Linked DNA regions of Homo sapiens: all the other regions are linked to region 2. The links are contacts of gene promoters, found by promoter capture Hi-C in blood cells and fetal thymus (Javierre and others, 2016). All regions are on one chromosome and are shown on one strand. The core of a region is centred on a gene start or on the middle of the fragment in contact, and the rest is flanking DNA. Distances in the headings are between cores, read along the strand shown. Region 1 overlaps LINC00504 (long intergenic non-protein coding RNA 504). Region 2 holds the start of BOD1L1 (biorientation of chromosomes in cell division 1 like 1). Region 3 overlaps LINC00504 (long intergenic non-protein coding RNA 504). Region 4 overlaps LINC00504 (long intergenic non-protein coding RNA 504). Region 5 overlaps CPEB2-DT (CPEB2 divergent transcript). Region 6 overlaps LINC00504 (long intergenic non-protein coding RNA 504). Region 7 overlaps CPEB2-DT (CPEB2 divergent transcript).

What was found. The method cuts DNA at HindIII sites, captures the fragments that hold promoters and counts their contacts. A CHiCAGO score of 5 or more calls a contact.
Region 1: a fragment that was not itself captured here is called in contact with the fragment with the promoter of BOD1L1 in region 2 in 1 of 17 cell types (monocytes); the score reaches 5.4 in monocytes.
Region 3: a contact is called between a fragment that was not itself captured here and the fragment with the promoter of BOD1L1 in region 2, in 1 of 17 cell types (M2 macrophages). The highest score is 6.6, in M2 macrophages.
Region 4: a contact is called between a fragment that was not itself captured here and the fragment with the promoter of BOD1L1 in region 2, in 3 of 17 cell types (M2 macrophages, monocytes and naive B cells). The highest score is 8.9, in M2 macrophages.
Region 5: a fragment that was not itself captured here is called in contact with the fragment with the promoter of BOD1L1 in region 2 in 1 of 17 cell types (total CD4 T cells); the score reaches 5.2 in total CD4 T cells.
Region 6: a fragment that was not itself captured here is called in contact with the fragment with the promoter of BOD1L1 in region 2 in 2 of 17 cell types (monocytes and M2 macrophages); the score reaches 7.2 in monocytes.
Region 7: a contact is called between a fragment that was not itself captured here and the fragment with the promoter of BOD1L1 in region 2, in 4 of 17 cell types (naive CD8 T cells, monocytes, total B cells and 1 more). The highest score is 9.6, in naive CD8 T cells.

What each region holds. Positions count from the first base shown.
Region 1 is chr4:14,766,675-14,769,374 of GRCh38, reverse strand. The region is part of intron 2 of LINC00504 (long intergenic non-protein coding RNA 504); the gene reads left to right. Among named protein-coding and RNA genes, the nearest start is that of LINC00504, 120 kb to the left of the region's middle. RefSeq lists enhancers at 533-582, 623-842. The HindIII fragment of the contact is 5,250 bases long and covers 1-2,700 here.
Region 2 is chr4:13,626,449-13,629,148 of GRCh38, reverse strand. It overlaps BOD1L1 (biorientation of chromosomes in cell division 1 like 1), which reads left to right and starts at 1,424. Exons shown (of 26, transcript NM_148894.3): 1 at 1,424-1,804. The coding sequence starts at 1,562. MIR5091 (microRNA 5091) reads right to left here and starts at 1,284; the gene lies at 1,192-1,284. RefSeq lists enhancers at 534-1,264, 1,268-1,427, 1,265-1,995 and a silencer at 1,568-1,767. The HindIII fragment of the contact is 7,220 bases long and covers 1-2,700 here.
Region 3 is chr4:14,808,871-14,811,570 of GRCh38, reverse strand. The region is part of intron 2 of LINC00504 (long intergenic non-protein coding RNA 504); the gene reads left to right. Among named protein-coding and RNA genes, the nearest start is that of LINC00504, 78 kb to the left of the region's middle. The HindIII fragment of the contact is 3,678 bases long and covers 1-2,700 here.
Region 4 is chr4:14,788,790-14,791,489 of GRCh38, reverse strand. The region is part of intron 2 of LINC00504 (long intergenic non-protein coding RNA 504); the gene reads left to right. Among named protein-coding and RNA genes, the nearest start is that of LINC00504, 98 kb to the left of the region's middle. The HindIII fragment of the contact is 2,973 bases long and covers 1-2,700 here.
Region 5 is chr4:14,951,237-14,953,936 of GRCh38, reverse strand. The region is part of intron 7 of CPEB2-DT (CPEB2 divergent transcript); the gene reads left to right. Among named protein-coding and RNA genes, the nearest start is that of CPEB2-DT, 49 kb to the left of the region's middle. The HindIII fragment of the contact is 3,387 bases long and covers 1-2,700 here.
Region 6 is chr4:14,866,701-14,869,400 of GRCh38, reverse strand. All of the region lies in intron 1 of LINC00504 (long intergenic non-protein coding RNA 504), which reads left to right. Among named protein-coding and RNA genes, the nearest start is that of LINC00504, 20 kb to the left of the region's middle. The HindIII fragment of the contact is 2,551 bases long and covers 158-2,700 here.
Region 7 is chr4:14,976,832-14,979,531 of GRCh38, reverse strand. All of the region lies in intron 7 of CPEB2-DT (CPEB2 divergent transcript), which reads left to right. Among named protein-coding and RNA genes, the nearest start is that of CPEB2-DT, 24 kb to the left of the region's middle. The HindIII fragment of the contact is 4,392 bases long and covers 1-2,700 here.

The DNA.
Region 1 (2,700 bases), core at 78-2,577, 1.1 Mb before region 2:
ACAAAACAGGGACACCAAGAAATTGTTTGGAAAAAATATGACATTTTTTTGCACATACAAAAAAAACTGGCGTATCAACATCAGAAAAATCACAACTAGCTTGAACTTCCATACACATATTTATATGTTAGGGTGATTTTACATTGAATTCCATATCAGAAGAGGAATCACAGTCTTTCCAAGGCTTGAGGTCTCAAAAGGACAGCCTTCATCCTTGTAAACAGCAGAACATAAGCATTTAGCCAAGTTACCTGATAAAGAATTACTTGTGAGCTGTGGAATGAAGAAGAGTGTGTGTGTGCATGTGTGTGTGCATCTGCGCATAGGTATGCATGTGTGTGTACATGTGCATGCATGGATATGTGTGTACAAGTGTGTGCTTGTGTGGTCAGGGAAGCCTAGTGGAGAATAAATCAATCATTCTCTTCTATGTGCTTTTGTAGTACCAGGGTCATATTCCTAGTCTAGCTTCTGCTTAAATTAATCATCTATGTGTTCATTTGTAGCAGATGCTGCGGGGTCTTACCCATACTATATCCTCTTGGCACTCACCATTCTAGTGCATGCCTACAGTATCCTACTCCAAGCACCTGCAGCTTTCAGTCTGAGAGAATTTTCTGCATCACAGACAGGGAAACCAAAAGTGCAAGGGGATTATGGTACCTGGGAGCAGCCCTCACCTCAACCAATTATGGATGTGAGTTAGATGATAAGACTCTGGACTTCCCCCTTGCTATTCTCATGATAGTGAGTGAGTTCTCATGAGATCTGGTTGTTTGAAACTGTGAAACTGTGTAGAACTTCTTCCTTCACTCTCCCTCTCACTCCTGCTCCACCATGTGAAGAAGGTGCTTGCTTCCCCTTTGCCCTTCTGCCATGATCATAAGTTTCCTAAGGCCTCCCCAGCCATGCTTCCTGTACAGTCTGTAGAACTGTGAGTCAATTAAACCTCTTTTCTTCATGAGCCTATCTCATCACCCCTTGGGCAGGGTCCCTTGGAGGTATGTTCTACAACATGTTCCAGGGTTGCCCAGGTAAAACTGAGCTCTGCACTAACCGGCATGAAGGCATACCCTCTATTAGCTTCCTTCCCTGCCCAATCTGACTCTGCTACTCACACACTTGTGCCAGTTGTCCTGGGATTGCTTACAAACAGACCTCTTGCACACCCATTCTGGTCTCAGTCTACCTCCAGGGGAATCAAACCTAAGACAACAACTCTCCTCTCAAGGCAAAGCTGGATCTGACACAAATCCTGGCACACAGACTTAATAAATGTCCAGCAAATAAATTAGTGAATAAATAAATGGACAATGAAATGTGAGTGACTGATAGCAGTTTTCCCCCTATTTTTTCTTTAATCAAAGCCAAATAAATCCGTAATAATAACATTTTGGAAGAGAAAATATAATTTCCTTGGAAAGTAACTGGTGGGTGATTTGGACTCTGTGGCATGGGAGGCAGCAAGGCTGGCCTTAGAGGAACGAGTGAAGCTGCATTGATGTTCTCTCCCTCTCTTCCCTACCCTGGCTTCTCCTCCCCTATGGTACCTACAACGATGCAAATAACAACCTGCCTTCCCTTAGTGGCAGTTTTGATTAGATTCAAAGATTTCATGGAGGATATATCTCAAGATAAAGACTAAGGAGATTTGCCAAATCCTTTTTAGTTCTCAGAAAAGTGATGCTGTCTATATATTTATTCAGTTCATTTGTCTGTAAATGTATGCATTCAGTAATTTACTTACTTATAAATTTGGTCATACTGTAATTGATTCATACACTCCTTCCCTAGCTGACTCAAACAATTTTGCACAGAGGAGCTGATCCTTAGGCACATGGTCCCTAGACACCAAATGCCTGGGTTAGGATCCTGGCTGGTAGGCTATCTGAGCTTCAGTCTCTTCATATGTAAAATGGAGATAGAGAGTATCCCCTTGCTGAGAAAGTGAAGTGATTAGCAGTGTATGTATAGCACTCAGAACAGTGGCAGCACATAATCAGTGTCAGGGAAGCAATCAGCTTCATCCTGTTGTTTGAATTAAGCCATCTGTGCTGAGTATTGCTCACTCCTTCATTTTCTGTTTCACTTCCTTTATTTCTAGTTTTCTTCTCCACAACAGAAAGACCACATCAAAGTGGAAGAACTTAGTGTCCCAACTTCCAAATGAGTCCTGAAGTTTTAACTTTCACAGGCTCTATCCTGACTATTGCCAAAAGTTGAAAAAACTGCCAAGTGGATAAAATGTGTCTATTGTACTTTTTCAACTCCATTTGGGGGCTGCTTGTGCAGAACCTTCAAGCCACACTGCTATGATTTGGCTCTGTGTCCCCACCCAAATCTCATATTGAATTCTAATCCCCGATATTAGGGGAGGGACCTGGTGGGAGGTGATTGGATCATGGGGTGGACATCCCCCTTGCTGCTCTCCTGATAGTGAATGAGTTCTCATGAGATCTGGTTGTTTGAAACTGTGTAGCACTTCTCCCTTCTCTTTCTCTCTCTCTCTCTTCCCCCTGGTCCTCGACCACCATGTGAAGAAGGTGCTTGCTTCCCCTTCACCCTTCTGCCATGGTCATATATTTCTGTCTCTCCAGCCATGCTTCCTGTACAACCTGTGGAACTGTCAGTCAGTTAAACCTCTTTTCTTCATAAATTACCCAGTCTCAGGTAGCTCTTTGTGACAGCGTGAGAACAGAT
Region 2 (2,700 bases), core at 175-2,674:
TTATGAAAATGAAAAATGTTTAGATATTCTCCAAACTTTCAGTATATCAGGTGAAAGGTACACCTCATTGAAAAAATCAGGTCTAATTCATAGTCATTTGGTATCTTGGTAAAACCTATCTGGTATATTTCCCAGAATCTGAAAGAGTGAAAAAATAAGGATTAAGTAAACAAATCCTTTGGCAAGCCAGGTGGTTTTCAGCTCTTTGCTTTCCATAAAATAGAAGGAGGGCCTAATTGAAGTCAGCTCATAGATAATCAAATCTAATTTTTTGAGGTCAAGAATTGAATGATATTGCTACAACAAAACTCTTCCATTCCTAGGCACAGTACTTGTTTATATGAACAAGGTTTCTCAGGGCACACAGCTATAAAAATTACAAATAGGAATAGAATTGATGCTCAACCCTTCTTTTCCTACTAATAAGATATATTCAGCCACAGATGTAGGAACTTTAAAAAGCAACAATATGCATTTTTCAATAAAGTTACACACACTATTTAGTAATTATGAAATTTTCTAATATTTATGTTGCTTTGACCACGTACTAATAATAATTTCAAAGATGATGCAGTCCAAAAGCAGGTGATTTGCTAGCTGTGTAATCTTACTCAACATACTTAATTTATCTGAGCCTTGGTTCCCTGATTTGCAAACTGGGGACAGTAATCAGACCTAGCTCTTAGTGTTTGTCCAAAGATTAAATGCGTTAATACATGTAAAAGCACTTAACGCCACGCTTGGTACATAATATGTGCTATAGATGTTTTACCTGCTATAATCATAGTAATCAATAGCAAATCTCCTAAAAATAAAAGCCTGTCGATTTGTCTTCACAGATAGGAAGAACGGGCTGGAGGGATCGGATCTAATCCACAGGCACACTGCCAGAAACAAGGGACCCCCACGGGGAAATGGTATGTGCAGGCAGAAGAGAGACAGAAGGAACTTGGAGCTACCTGCTGGGACAAGAATAGTGCAGGATCACAGGCTAAGAACGAAGAGGGTTGGGCGAAGTTAGAATGAGCAGATCCACGTAGGGTTCGCATTACAAATGTCTATGGATCTCTATGCACTGCTCCGGGAAACTGGAGCAAGAGAGGCAGGCCTAAAATGCCGTCGCGGATGAAGCGGGGCCAGAAACGCACTGCCCCCGCTCAGACCTAGGGCCCCAGGTGTCGCGCGGGTCGAAGCCCTAACCTCCAGGGACTCCAGACCCCTGCCGGTGACCTAAACCCCACAACCCGCGACCAGCACAGTCTTGTCGTCTCCGTCGCCACAGTCGCCGCCACTTCCGGCGCAGCTCGGCCTCGCGAGGGCGCTTGCGCCCGGCGACGGTCGAAACTGGCTCTTCGCGGCCTCCGTCGCCGGACTTTCGTCAATGTTGTCACCGTCTTTTCCTCCTTTCCCCCAGTTCCCTTTCACTTCCGGGGTTGCTCTGGATCCGCTGGTTCCGTAACAACATCCCGTTGGCTTCCCTCAGGCGGCGGGACCAGTGCAGCCGCCGCCTCCCAGGATCGTCCGCCGGTCAGGGCCCTTGCCCTCCCCGGCACAGGCCACCATGGCCACCAACCCACAGCCGCAGCCGCCTCCTCCGGCGCCGCCGCCTCCCCCGCCGCAGCCGCAGCCGCAGCCACCGCCGCCGCCGCCGGGCCCCGGGGCTGGCCCCGGCGCGGGCGGGGCGGGCGGCGCGGGTGCGGGCGCCGGGGACCCGCAGCTCGTGGCCATGATCGTGAACCACCTCAAGAGCCAGGGGCTCTTCGACCAGTTCCGCAGAGACTGCCTGGCCGACGTGGACACCAAGGTTAGGAGCGCGCCGGGTTTGGGGGTCTGCGAGGGAAGGGGAGGACCCAAGGGCGCGCTTCTTTTGCAGTGGCTTCCTCTTGGAGCTGCAGCTGTGTGCCACGGACTGTGCAAAGCACAGAGTGTTCATTCCTTAGCGTGTCCTTTGGTTCGTTTTACCGACTAGTGTTTAAGTACCTACTACGTGCCAGTCATGGTTTCGGCACAGTGATTACCCCGGTCTGATGAGCAAGACTAAGGCATTGTTCTTACAGGAACTGGTTTGGAAACAGTGGCGCTAACAGTAGCCAGTTTTGTATTCATTCTCATATCTGATGATTTTACTTTGTATCGAAGTTATGTTTGCCTTCTTTCTTGAAGGTTTCTGGGCGGTAAGGGCCTTTATCCTTTGGAGAAATGACTAAATGGTAATTGAATCAAGTTATGTGTAATATGCTTTGCTGGACATCGTGGGGGTGGGAGCGCAAAGATAAGGAGGCAAACCTGAGACAGGACTTTAGTATTGTTTCTAGCAGTGATTGCCTGATTTAGGTAACTTAGGCCATGTCACCATTCTAAGGTAAGAAGGGACAGGAAGGTGGGGTAGAGAGAACCGAGTCATTCAGTGGAGAAAAGATGCAGGAGAGGTGACAGCAGATACTGAAGTGGAGAAAGGACAGGAAAGAGAGCAGATTCAGGAGAGTAATGTAGAGAAGGGAAAGGACAGCAACAAGGTTCCCTGTCCAGAAAGAGAGGCTGGAAAGGGGAAGGGATTTTGTACCAAATGTCAGAGTGAAAGGGACATTAGCAGGAACAAGTAAACTTAGCTGGATTGGCAAAGAATTAGCCAAAGACACCAGGAAAGAGCAGTCAGTGAGATGGATGGAAAACCACAGTACAGTCTAGAATTCTGGAAGC
Region 3 (2,700 bases), core at 6-2,505, 1.2 Mb before region 2:
ACAAATCAGACCCTATTTTTAGCCATTTTTTCTCTACATCATTTCATTCACTTGGAGTTATCTAATAATAGGCTAGAATGAATCAGACCTTATCTCTCACTGGCTTAACCCTTGCATCCCTTGGTTTCTGTCCACCCTGGAACAAAGGCTACAGTGTTCAAGCTGTCAATTAGTAGGTTTAAAAGTAAAGGCTATTCTTGTAGCTCCAAAGCCTTGCAGGTCTAATAGGTGAGGGAACTTCAAGGAACTCCTTTGTCAGGGAGACTTTTCAGGAAGCTGGAGCTCGTGCTTAGCCTTGAGGGGCAGGTGTAGTTGGACTATAGAGAAGGGAATTGTTAGGAGAGAACAGTTGTGTATTCTTGGTAAATTTGGAACTCATAATTCAGTAGTTAAGAGCCTTGTTTCTGGAATCTGACTTCTTGGGTTCAAATCCTGGTTCTAGCCCTTTTTGGGAGAGTGACCCTAAGCAAACATATTACTCTCTCTGTGCCTCATCTGCTGAAGTGGAGGTTAGAAATAGTACCTACCTCATCAGGTTGTCATGAGGATTAAATGGGTTAAAATATGTAATGGGCTTAAAACAGTGTCTTGGACATAGGATGCATCTGGAAAGGCTATTTGATACTACTGTTGACCGTTCTTGGTGTTCTTAATCCATGTAGAGAAACATCCATTACCATATCACTCCTGGCCTCTTCCCTTGGAGGAGAGAAATAACTAAACTCTTTGGAGAGTCTAGAGAGAGAAACTGGCAATACTTAGAAACTTTCCTTCCTCTTAGGAACTATGTGTGTTTGCTCTGGCTCCGAATTGCTATGTCTGGGAGATAATTCTGGCAAATTCTGGTATTCAGTATAAGGAAGTTTAAATGCCTGTGGTTATAAGCCATATTCTCTATTATCAGCTTAACAGTGTCACACTTTGGCACAACCTGCCTGCTTCCTTAGATTTCTCTACTGGTTTGGAACTTAATCAGTAAAGAGGTTGACTATTTATTTATTGGGTCCTATTTAAGGCCCCAACAGGATCACATTTACAATGAGTAGAAATGCATGGGAGAATAAATGGCAGGGGTCTTAGTGTCCCAAGAGCAGAAGATTCATGCCTGAGAAATTGGAAGAATTAAACAGTCAGTGTTCTTAGAGATGGCTGAAGGAGCAGCAAACCAGCATAGCCCACATGATTGTGAGTGACATTCCTAAATATCAGAATCCCTACACTCGTGGAGTCAGAGGATGCAAATGTTGACACTCAGAAAGTGTCATGGCAGCTGCCTCTATAAAGGAGCTGTTCTTAGCCCAGATCCTCAGCAATGAATTACATTAACATGAGTAAAATGTGTGCAGAGCCCAAAGGTATGACATAAAGCATAAAAACAGCATTCAAGACAGTGCACTCAGATCAGAGAGACAGACACAGAGGACCGCAGGGCCATGCATGCAGAGCAGCCATTCTCAGGCCAAGGGACATTTATGCACAGATATTTGTGCAGCATTGTATGGACTAAGCAATCTAATCCAATTGCTTAAGATGATTTATAAATGAAACCAGCAGAAAACAAATGGCAAGGACTGGGAATATGGTCTTTGAAACATAGAAAAGGTGCCCCAAGGCAGACTAACATAGCAGTATGAGGACATGGAAAGGAACCAGCAGAACTTGATCAATGCAAATGGTAGAGCAATCTAGTGTCAGCTGGGTCAGATACTCTTCTCCCTGGCACACCTGGCTAAGTATGATTATGAGTGGTAATCACAAATAAATGTTAGACCACGCTGCAGGTGTATTTGGTAGTTTGGGGTGAATAACTTTGCTCAAGGTACTTGTTTAGTGTAATCCATGTATATATGCCTTACTTCACAATTCAGGTTTGGATGACTTTTAAGCAAACCCATTATGTCTGTTGTTATAATGTCTATGTTAAAGGATCCATACAAGTATATGTGTTTAGAACTAGATAGACCCCACTAAACTTTCAGGCAGGGAAGCAGTAGGCAGTATGGGAAAAATCAGCTCAGCAGATCGTGTTTATGGCCACCTTTTCCTAGTATTTTCTTTTAGTCTAGGAATAATCCTATTTCTAAGTAAACAAATTAAGATTCTCATCACTTTTGCTAAATGTTTAAATATCACTGGAAATAGTAACCACACTGAGGCTTCTGAGGGTGCTGGAAGAAGAGACCAATTTAGTTAATTAGCATGAATAATTCTGTTTGATTTCCTGTCCCTCTCTTCCTCTCCCTTCCCCTCCCTTTCCTTCCCTTCCCCTACCTTCCCCTACCTTCCCTCCCTTCCGCTCCCTTCCCCTCCCTTTTCCCCTCCTCTCCCCTCCCCTGTCTTCTCCTTCTCTCCCCTCCCTTCCCTTCTCCCCTCCTTTCCCCTTCTCTCCTTTCCTCCTTAGGAACCCAGATAGTTCCTAAGAGGAAGGAAAGTTTCTAATGTAATAAGACATCATAGGTTGTTCATCTGGAAAGCCAACTCTGGAAATAATTTAACAGGCTGGATATTTATCAAAGTGTTTCTTTGGGATGAAGACCAGTGGAAGGGAAAAGAAGGAAGCAGGACTGGGCAGGGGGAGAAGTTGAATGGTGATACATCCCTGATAATTTTATCCCACCCTACGAAGGCTCCAGAGCTAGAGTGGTTCTTCAGAGTTGTCCTGAGTTAAGCCAAGATGACCTGGATTTTTCATAATCTCAC
Region 4 (2,700 bases), core at 108-2,607, 1.2 Mb before region 2:
ATACTTATCATCTGTGAAGAGTGATAGTTTGACTTCTTTTCTTATTTGGATGCCTTTTATTTCTCTCTCTTGCCTGATTGCTCTGGCTAGCACTTCTAGTATTATGTTGAACAGGAGTGGTAAGAGTGGACATTCTTGTTTCAGTTCTCAAGGGAAATGCTTCCAGTTTTTGCCCACTTAGTATGATGTTGCCCATGGGTTTGTCATAGATGGCTTTCATTATTTTCAAGCATGCTCTTTCAGTGCTTAAGTTCTTGAGGGTTTTTATTATGAAAGGATGTTAGAATTTAATGAAGACTTTTTCACATTTATTGAGATGACCATATGGTTTTTGTTTTTAATTCTGTTTATGCGGTGAATGACATTTATTAATTTGCATATGTTGAACCAACGTTACATCCCAGGAATTAAGCCTAGGTGATCATGATGAATTAACTTTGTAATGTGCTGTTAGATTTGATTTCCTAGTATTTTGTTGAGAATTTTTGCATCTATATTTGTCAGGCATATTGGCCTGTAATTTTCTCTTTTTTTCATGTCTTCACCAGCTTTTGGTATCAAGATAATTGTGGCTTCATAGAATATGTTGGGAATGAGTCCCTCCTCTTTGATTGATGTTTTGGAATAGTTTTTGTAGAATTGGTACCAGCTCTTCTTTGTATGTCTGGTAGAATTCAGCTGTGAATCCATCCAGTCTATGGCTTTTTTTGGTTGGTAGGATTTTGTTGCTGATTCAATTTCAGAACTCAATATTAGTCTGTTCATGGTTTCAGTTTTTCCTGATTCAACCTGGTGAGACTGTGTGTTTCCAGTAACTTACTCATTTCCTCTAGAATTTGTAGTTTGTGTGTATAGAGGTATTTATAATAGCCTCTGAGGATCTTCTGTATTTCTGTGAGATATTATGTCACCTTTGTTATTTCTAATTGTGGATATTTGCATCTTCTCTCTTTTTCTCTTGTTAATGTAGCTAGTGGTCTATTGATCTTGTTTATCCTTTCAAAAATACCTTTTGATTTCATGGAGTCTTTGTGAAGATTCTGGGACATAAGTTTTGTTCAGTTCTGACCTGATTTTAGTTATTTTCTTCTGCTAGCTTTGGGGTTAGTTTGTTCTTGCTTTTCTAGTTCCTCTAGGTTTGCTCTCAGATTATTAATTTGAGATCTTTCTAACTTTTTGAGGTAGGTGCTTAGCACTATAAACTTTTCTCTTAACACTGTTTTTGCTGCATCCTAAAGATTTTGGTATGTTGGGTTTCTGTTTTCATTTATTTCACATAAGTTTTTGATTTCTGACTTAATTTCATTCTTTACCCAAAAGTTATCCAGGAGCAAGTTGTTTAATTTCCATGTAATTATGTGGTTTAGAGAGATCTTCTTGTTATTGATTTTTAGTTTTATTCTACTGTGATCTGAGAGTATGGTTGGTATTGTTTTGCTTTTTTAATGTATCGAGACTTGCCTTATGGTGAGCATCTGGTCAGTCTTGAAGTACGTTCTGTGTGCAAATGAGAAGAATGTATATTCTGTGGTTGATGGATGGCGTATTCTGTAGATGCCCATTAGGTCCAAATGGTGAAGTATCAAACTTAAGTCCAGAATTTCTTTGTAAATTTTCTGCCTCAGTGATCTCTCTAATGCTGTAAGAGGGGTGTTGAATAGGGCTTTCCTCACTATTATAATGTTATTAAGTCTTTTCATATTTCTAAAGTAGTTGTTTTATGAATCTGGGTGCTCCAACGTTGGGTGTGTATATATTTAGGAAAGTTAAGTCTTCTTGTTGAAGTGAGCCCTTTATCATTGTGTAATGCCCTTCTTTGTCCTTTTTTACTGTTGTTAGTTAAAGTCTATTTTTTTCTGATATAAGAATAGTGACCCCTGCCTTTTTGTTTTCCATTTTCATAATAGATCTTTATCCAACTCTTTATTTTGAGTCTATGGGTGTCATTATGTGTGCGATGGATTTCTTGAAGTCAGAAGATGAAGGGATCCTCTTTTTTTTTAAAAAAAAATACAAATTGGCGTTCTGTGACTTTTAATTTGGATTGTTAGACCTATTATCATTCAAGGTTAATATTGATATATGATGTTTTGGGGCTACCACGAAGTTATTGGCTTGTTGCTTTGTAGTTTGTATTGTGTGGTTGTTTTATAGGGTCTATTGACTATGTACTTAGGTGCATTTTTGTGGTAGCTGTTATTGTTCTTTGTTTCCATGTTTAGAATGCTCTGAAGAATCTCTTGTAATGCTCGTGTAGTGGTAATGAATTCCCTTAAAACTTGCTTATCTGGAAAAGATTTTATGTCTCCTTTGCTTATGAAACTTAGGGAGGGATATAAAATTGTCAGTTGAAATTTCTTTTCTTGAAAAATGCTAAGTTTAGACCCCCAATCTCTTCAGGCTTATAAGGTTTCTGCTGTTAGCCTGATGGGATTCCCTGTGCACATGATCTGACCTTTTTCTCTAGGCCTTTCTCTTTAAGGTTTCTTTTGCATTGACCTTGGACAATCTGGTATCTCTATGCCCTCCTGTTCATTTTGTACAGTATCTCATAGTATTCTCTGGATTTCTTGTATCTGGATGTCTACCTGTCTAGTAAAATTAGGAAAATTTTCTTCAATTTTTCTCTGTAATACGTTTTCCAGGTCATTTGCTTTTTATCCTTCTCTCAGAAATGCTAATGACTCATAGGTTTGGTTA
Region 5 (2,700 bases), core at 111-2,610, 1.3 Mb before region 2:
ATTCTATACTAAGCCAAATTATCGATTGAGGGTACACAGTAGTATACAGACATTTTCTGACATGAAAGGCTCAAACGTTTTGCCCACTACACATCTTTTCTTAAGAAGCAAATGAAGAATGTTCTTTATAAAATGAGGGAGTCAATCAAGGAAGAGAAAGACATGGTATTAAAAAACCAGGCCATGTAATGCCTGGGGTGGAGGAGGGTGAAGAAAAGAAGGCTTAGCATGAAAGCCAGGTAGCTGGCCCGGAGATCAAAGGGTCCACAATAGGAGCAGAAGAACTGTAGGCCGTGGGAGAGAGGGTGCAGGATGGGTGGGTCGAAGAAGGGAGGGCAGGAGGCAGAAACGTATAGAGTGTTTGAAACTGTAGCCCAGCAAGTGCAAAAATTACCGATAGATTTTAAAAGATCCGTTGGGGCATTTAGGACAAAAGTAATAGTAAGTACATTTAAAAAATTAACAGAAACCAGGATGTATTAAGAATCCGAGGAAAAACAATAAGTTCTAGGAGAAGGAATAAGTAATTATGGTACATTACATGGTTTAGTAATAAACAACATTTATATAGTCATAATGATGCACCCAGTATTTGATATATAATTAAATTGAGGGATGTGGGTTGAGGATGGCATAAGAAAGCTAACCCCTTAAGTTCTATAACAGGAAGTCACTACAAAAGGCTGAAAATTTATAAAACAAGATTTAGCAGTGTAAGCATCTTATTTTGAAGATAGGGAAACAATTACCAGGAGAAGTAGGTACAACAATTGAAAGAGGTTGGCTCTGGGGAGCAGGACTGGGGTTTTGATGGTGACTGGGGCAGAAGATTACCATTTTCTCAGTATAATCTAGTTTATTTAAAGAACATTTATTATTTAGATGAAATAAAACAACCAGTATTAAAAATCATGCTTCCTGTGCAGCTTTTTTTGATGCCTTCCATGCAGTCAAAATTACTTGTCTTCCCCTCTTCTCCCACTCCAATTCTCCCTTCTCATTTTGTACTCATCCAGATTATATGACCTATTTTGCTAGTTTCATTTATTTATGATCTGGCTTTTGAGACTAATGATGAGTTATTTGAGTGTAGGGGCTATGTCAAAGGTTTCCAAAATTGCCTTGGTTCACATTGCCTTTATTGTCTCAGTAATGTTTTGATGAGGCCCCTAGTCTAAAATAAACACCCAACAGGTCTATTTATTAGGTAATGAGGTCCAAACAACTTAAAATATCTTTTGTGTTTCAGGAATGAGCACCAGGAGTTTACAGCACATGTTATTCATATCAGAGATGTCCCAGTTGGTATCCCTCAAATAAGACAAACTAACTTCCCCCACAACAAGGGTTGCTGAAATTGCTAACCACAATAATAGTCAAAATTTAAAATGAAAGAGAAAAAGACTAACCCAGAATTCTGCCAGTCAAAAACATCACCTGTTTTCACTTCCATATTTCTATCTAGTTTTTTCCATATGCAGAAAATTACATATTTTTACATATAATCAGTAAAGATGTAATTTTGTGTCATATTTTCTCAAGACTTTCAGACACAGCTTTCCTTGCCAGTACATGGTCTTCATAATGGTCATTTCCAACAGCTGTGTTATATTTCATCAGATTTTAGTGGTTATTGAAACATTTCCCTATGAATGGATGTATTGATTGACTCTTTCTTCCTCTACAATTAACATCTTCCTACACATTTCTCTATTCTTCTTTGTGATTATTTACCTAAGTTATTTTCTGGTGGAGGCTAAAATGGGTATGAATTTTTAGAGTATAGGAATCTCAAAACGGAGAGAAGTTGCTTTGTTAAACCTCAAACTTAAGGCAGGGACACCCTCTAAAGCCATATGCCTCTTCTTGACTCCTTTCTATAAATTTCACTTTCTCACAAGAAAGTTTATCCAATTGCTGGCCAGTTCAAATTTCTAAAATTCGGAGTTTCTTGATCCCCACGCAGCATCATTTGCTTGACTTGCTGGCCCTCATTCTGTCCTCAGGAGCCATACAAAACAAGTATGTTTTCTTCTTCCACATGACAGCCTTTCAAATATTTGAGGATGATGATAATGGACAAGTTGACCTTTGTACAATCTTTTGACTAAGGTATTCCCAGTCTCTGACTGTGAATCCTCCTACTCAGTCACCTTTGCCATTTTCTGCCCCAGTTACCCAAACTTCTTCCATTCCTGCCACACATCCACAGCTCTCCCAATGTCCTCCATGGGCTGTCCCTTTAGATCTATGCCACTGTATCCTGTTAAATCAAAGATGCCATCAATTGTAAGATGCAATATGATTTTTTAATTTTTTTAACTAAGAAACAAAAACTACTGCCAATTAAATTCTGACATGATATCAATTGTAAAGCACACCTCATTTTCCAAGAGAATAAAATATGAAAAAAAAATGTGTCTTAGAATCAATGACACACAGGAAGGCAGTTGTTTCTTTTGTTTTTTAATTTTTTATTTCCATATGTCTTTGGGGAACAGGTGGTATTTGGTTACATGAGTAATTTCTTTAGTGGTGATCTGTGAGATTTTCGTGCATCCATCACCTGTGCAGTATACACTGAACCCAATTTGTAGTCTTTATTCTTTACCTTCTTCCCACCCTTTCCCTGTGAGTCCCCAAAGTTCACTGTGTCATACCTTTGCATCCTCATAGTTTAGCTCCCTCTTCTTAGTGAGA
Region 6 (2,700 bases), core at 184-2,683, 1.2 Mb before region 2:
AAGTTGCATTCTAAGCAAATCAGTCTTGACTCAGTTTTCCATTGACTGCTGGCCTTTGCCATCAGGCCTCCAGACATGCTACATATCCAGTCCTCCTGGCTTTTTACTCTATTCCTGCTTCCTCCTCAAACTGGGAGTAGGAAAAGCTGGGCAAGCTTTACTCATTTGTACTCAGAAGCTGTCAGGAAACTAACTGCCAAAATGCCTGCATTTGATGGCAGTACCTCATATGGGCATTGCTCTGAAGTCTCAAAGCCTTTCTTTCCAGTGTGTGTGCATGTGCGTGTGTGTGTTTCATGTGAATAACTTTGGCTGGCTGAGAAGGCATTTTCAAAATGGAGAAATTAATAGACAGGTTAAGCAATCAGGATAGTATAAAATACTCAGCAAGGATTGCAACAAACATTAAGGGCATAGAGCACAAAACTTTTAGTAGACTGCAAACTGTTCACAAAAAAGTGGAAGAGATCACTGTGGGTTTTCTCAGCTCTGATATGCTAATCATGTGTATTGTGAATTCCCAGGGGGACCCAGAGTACCTAGTGCTTCCCAAACTTACTTGACTAAGAACCTACTGGAGCGCAGGCAGCTTTCTTGGATAACTAGCGTTCCGAAGTACACAGTTTGAGAAATACTAATCTGTAGGTTTTCTATATAATATTAATTCACTAATTTAATTTTATTCAGTAGTGAATTAGGTCCTGGCTACTCAAAGTATGGTCTGTGGACCAGTGGTGTTTGCTTCCTCTAGGAGCTCCTTAGAAATACTGAAACTGTGTTCTACCTCACCTGTCTTTCCCCACATAGACAGATTTAGAACCTGCATCTTAATAAGATTGACAGTCATTTACAGGCATAGTAAAGTTAGAGACAGACACACTGCTGATAAGGAAACAAAAGTTGTTAATATAGAAGTCACATAGAGTTCAATTTCATAAAGTGTGTTTCATACATGTATTTAAGGTAATGTACAATAAACACAGGAAGTGAGAAAGGTATTTGGACACTGCTTTCTCAAAATGCTGGCCATTTCTTCTGAGGGTATATTCTGGTGTCGGCTCAACAAGGACCTCAAACAACTGTGAGCCCACAGCTTTCTCTGAGTCCTTTTTCTTGTCCTTTTTAGGAGAGGGTGCAGTCCCATAGCATGTCCACATTTGGAACCGACCGGTATGAGATGCAGCCACATCCCATCAGCTAATAGCACTAGGTGGCGAGGCCCCTGGAGAGGGGTTTCAGCTGGGAACACACAGCTAAAGCCCCTTTAATTGCCCAGTCAGCTGTCAGGGCTGTAAACACATTTCTTCCCATTCAGAGCCGTTTGCCCCTCTCTGTGACCTCTCATGGCTCTCAGACCCTAGCCACGTGGCCCAGATGGCATAATCTGTCAGGCCAAAGCAGGTGATAGTAGGGCTTGCCGTTAGGTAATCAGTGACTATAATTAGCTGGGGTGAAGGGATAATGGGACCAACTGCAGGGCTGTGGGGAGGGGGCGGGGGCCAGGGGAAGCCCTGGATGGATGGGAGGGAGCACAGTAGGAGGGAGGCTTGCTGCCTTCCCTCCTTATTTCTCCTTTCCCCTTCCACCTTCTCCCTCTAGTATTATGTTTTCTAGCACATGGAGTATGTGTGTGCTGGGGGCTTCATCCTCAATGGGGAAGGTCAGGGTTGAGCACTGGCAATTCAGTAAGTGAGTTGTCTCGCAGCCCTGATCAATTTTATTTCACAGAAGCTGTTCCAGAAATCTATGGTGCTTTGGTAATTAGTTGGCTACAAGGACCTTGTGGGAGCAAGGATCGGGGTGGGGGTGGTGTGCTGTAGAGGTTTAGAACTTGATTCTGGGGAGTCAGACACACTGGCATTCAGATCCTGGCTCTGCCATCAGCAGCCAGGTGAGCTCAGGCTGGCGTAGCAGCCTCTCTGTGTCTCTGACAATAATAGGTCCCAATGCTCAACTTCTGGGCATGTTGTCAGTGCCAAGTAAACATGGCCATCAACACTGCCTGAAACATGCCTAATCTATAGCAGATGCTCTGAAAATATCATTTTATTTCTCCTTTCTTTCTTGATAGGAATGATTTTGTAATATGATGTCAATGATATGGAAATAACCAACCAAAAAATTGCTGTTCACAGATCTTAGAGGGTGTCTTTGATAACAGGTGAAGCTCGGTTATGTTTATCAAAAAGAGGTTGGCAGGTGGCTGGGTGCACTGGCTCACACCTGCTATCCCAGCACTTTGGGAAGCCGAGGCAGGTGGATTGCTTGAGGTCAGCAGTTCAAGACCAGCCTGACCGACATGATGAAACCCCACCTCTACTAAAAATACAAAAATTAGCTGGGCATGGTGGCACGTGCCTGTAGTCCCAGCAACTCTGGAGGCTGAGGCAAGAGAATTGCTTGAACCCGGGGACGGAGGTTGCCGTGAGCTGAGATCTCACCACTGCACTCCAGCCTGGGCAACAAAGCAAGACTCTGTCTCAAAGTCTCAAAAAAAAAAAAAAAAAAAAAGGTTGACAGATGAAGTTGGCTTTGTTTGTAACTTTTATCAGGAGAACTGTCTATTCATTTTCTAAATCCAAGTGAAAGAGATAGGGCAGTCTACGAGTAAACATTGAAGCCTTGTGTATTTGTCCTGTGGCCACAGATGATGGTTTTCCTGGAACAGAACATGCATTGTGGAGCACACTGTACACATTG
Region 7 (2,700 bases), core at 104-2,603, 1.4 Mb before region 2:
CTCTAAACTTTGTTCTGACTTAGAGTTTCTGTGCTTGCAGCTGCCTCAGCCCAGCTGACTCTTCTCCCAACTGCACAGCTGGCTCCTCATCTTTCAAACTTCATCTAAGATATATTTCCTCCTAGAAACCTTCATGGGCTGTCCACTCTAAAGTGTCCTCCTTCTCAGGCCATCTTTTATTTCCTCAGAAGCATTGCTCACCAATATGTAAGATTTAATTCATTTATTTATTTTATTGTCTATTTCATTTGAATATGAGATCCATGATACACTCAGATATGCCCTGTTTGACTTATCCCCAGCTAGTTACTTAGCATGTAGCACAAAATATGCTCACAATAGAAGATATTTTAGTTCTATGTTAAATGAATATAAATGTCATGAATCTTTAATATGCAATAAAAACATAATAATCTTTCCCTGAGATTTTAAGAGAAAAAGCTAGACTAATGGTTCCCAAACTCTATTTTATGTAGTAATAAAATAAGAGGGAAAAAAAGCAAGAATGAAAATTATGTTGTGAAGATTCTGCTATTGTTGTTAAGTATGTCTAGTTATAAACAAGAAAATCGCCACACTTTGTATGTCTGCCATCGTTGTACCAGACAGAATGGTGGAGAGCTAAAAGCATTCTAGGCCAAAGATTGCATCTATAAAGGCACAAAAATGGAGATGGTATGGTGGCTTGGAGTAAAATCAGTAAGTATAGTTTGAAGAAAGTGACCAATAACAAGTTTGAAGAAGTTGACAGGTTTAGATGATGGAGAGTTTTATAAACATGCGAAAGCATTTGGATTTAACTCTATAGGGAGTGTGAAGCTCTATAGCATAAAACAGCTTTCAATGGGAGAATGATGTGGTCCAATTTGTATTAAAAAATTATTTTGTGGCCAATATGGCAAATGGTTTGGAGGGAGATGAGATACAAATCAGAGAATCCAGTCAGAAGGCTGTCGGAATAACCCAAAAGCGAGATGGTAGGTCAGGCTTGAAATGAGGAGATGACATTGAGGATGAAGGTGAAGAAACTGGTCTTTGCTATTAGCAAAATAGCAAAAATTCTTGGAATGATTCCCATAACGTTCCAATTGAACACTGGTTCCAGTTCTGGCTTCTATCTTCTACCTATGAGATTTCAAATGCATTTCCATGTTGCATATCAGCTGGCCTCATAACATCCTTTTTTTTTTTTTTGCAAATATATCTTAAAGAAAACCATTACACTATAGAGCATTCATTATGAGGATTAAAAGAAGAAATGGATGTGAAAGCACTTTTAAAGTACTAGACAAATGGAAGCTATTTTTACTACCAGTAACTCAATTTAGTTTACAAAGAGAAAAATCACTTTCTAGCATGTAAGCTCTGGTAAGCAAACTCCCTAGGCAAAATGAATCATTCTTACAACCATAGCACTTTTTTGTACTTCTATCATAACACCTCCATTAATTATAAATTGTTTATGCATTTTTTTCATAGTGTATAAATCTTTTGGAGGCAGAGACAGAGGAGTCTTATGAATCATGCACCCTGGTTTATGGTAGACAGTAAATGGTCAGCAAATGTTAATTGCATGCATGAGTGAATGATTAGTTCACAGGAAAGGATAAAGCCAGGTAGCAGGGAGCTGGTACAGACATCAGAGATTAAATAAACAATAGGGCAAACATGTTAAAGTGAAAAGATTTAGTGTTATTAATGATCATATATTCCATTTTAGTCTACAAGATATGTATAGTGTACGTAGTGTATATACTGGTATATATATATGTGTATATATATATGTGTGTATATATATGTATATATATGGTATATATATGTGTATATATATATATGGTGTATATATATATATCTTGTAGACTGTACTACAAGACTGAATGCCAAAATTATCAACTTGCTGTATGTAAAGTTATTTTGTAATACTAATAATTAAAAATCCTTTTGTAGTATTATATTTGTTTATCCATTCATTCAGCAAATCTGTTTCCAATGCCTGTTAAGTACAAAACACCGTGTGGACATGTTCCTATTCTCAAGACGTTTGCTATACAGTAGGAAGGAGAGGAGGGCCTGCTCTCTGCCAAACACTGTCCTAGGAGTTTTGCACAATCCATTGAGTATTCTCTATATTTTTAACAGCCCTGAGAGGTAAGCATTATTACACCCATATTACAAATAAGAAACCTCAACACATGGACACAGGGAGAGGAATATCACACACCGGGGCCTCTTGGGGGGTTGGGGGCTAGGGGAGGGATAGCATTAGGAGAAATACCTAAGGTAGATGACAGGTTGATGGGTGAAGCAAACCACCATGACACGTGTATACCTATGTAACAAACCTGCACGTTCTGCACATGTATCCTAGAACTTTAAGTATAATAAAAATAATAATAATAGAATAAAATAAGAAACCTCAACTAAGAGAATATTATTAATTTCGCTGAGACCACAGAGCTAGGAAGAGGCAGAGGCAGGTCGATTGATAACAAGGAAGAGCATCAAGGATTATTTCTTTTTCAGAGTCTGGATCCATTGCAGCCATTTTGAAATTAACAAATAATAAGGGAAGGCCAACAAGGACAGATGTATAAAAGTATAATGAATCATAACAAGAGCTTCATCCTCCTGGAATTATTGGTTTAGTAGTACGATTTGGGAAAATGAATACAATCACAAGGTGGGAACTTAACCAAAGAT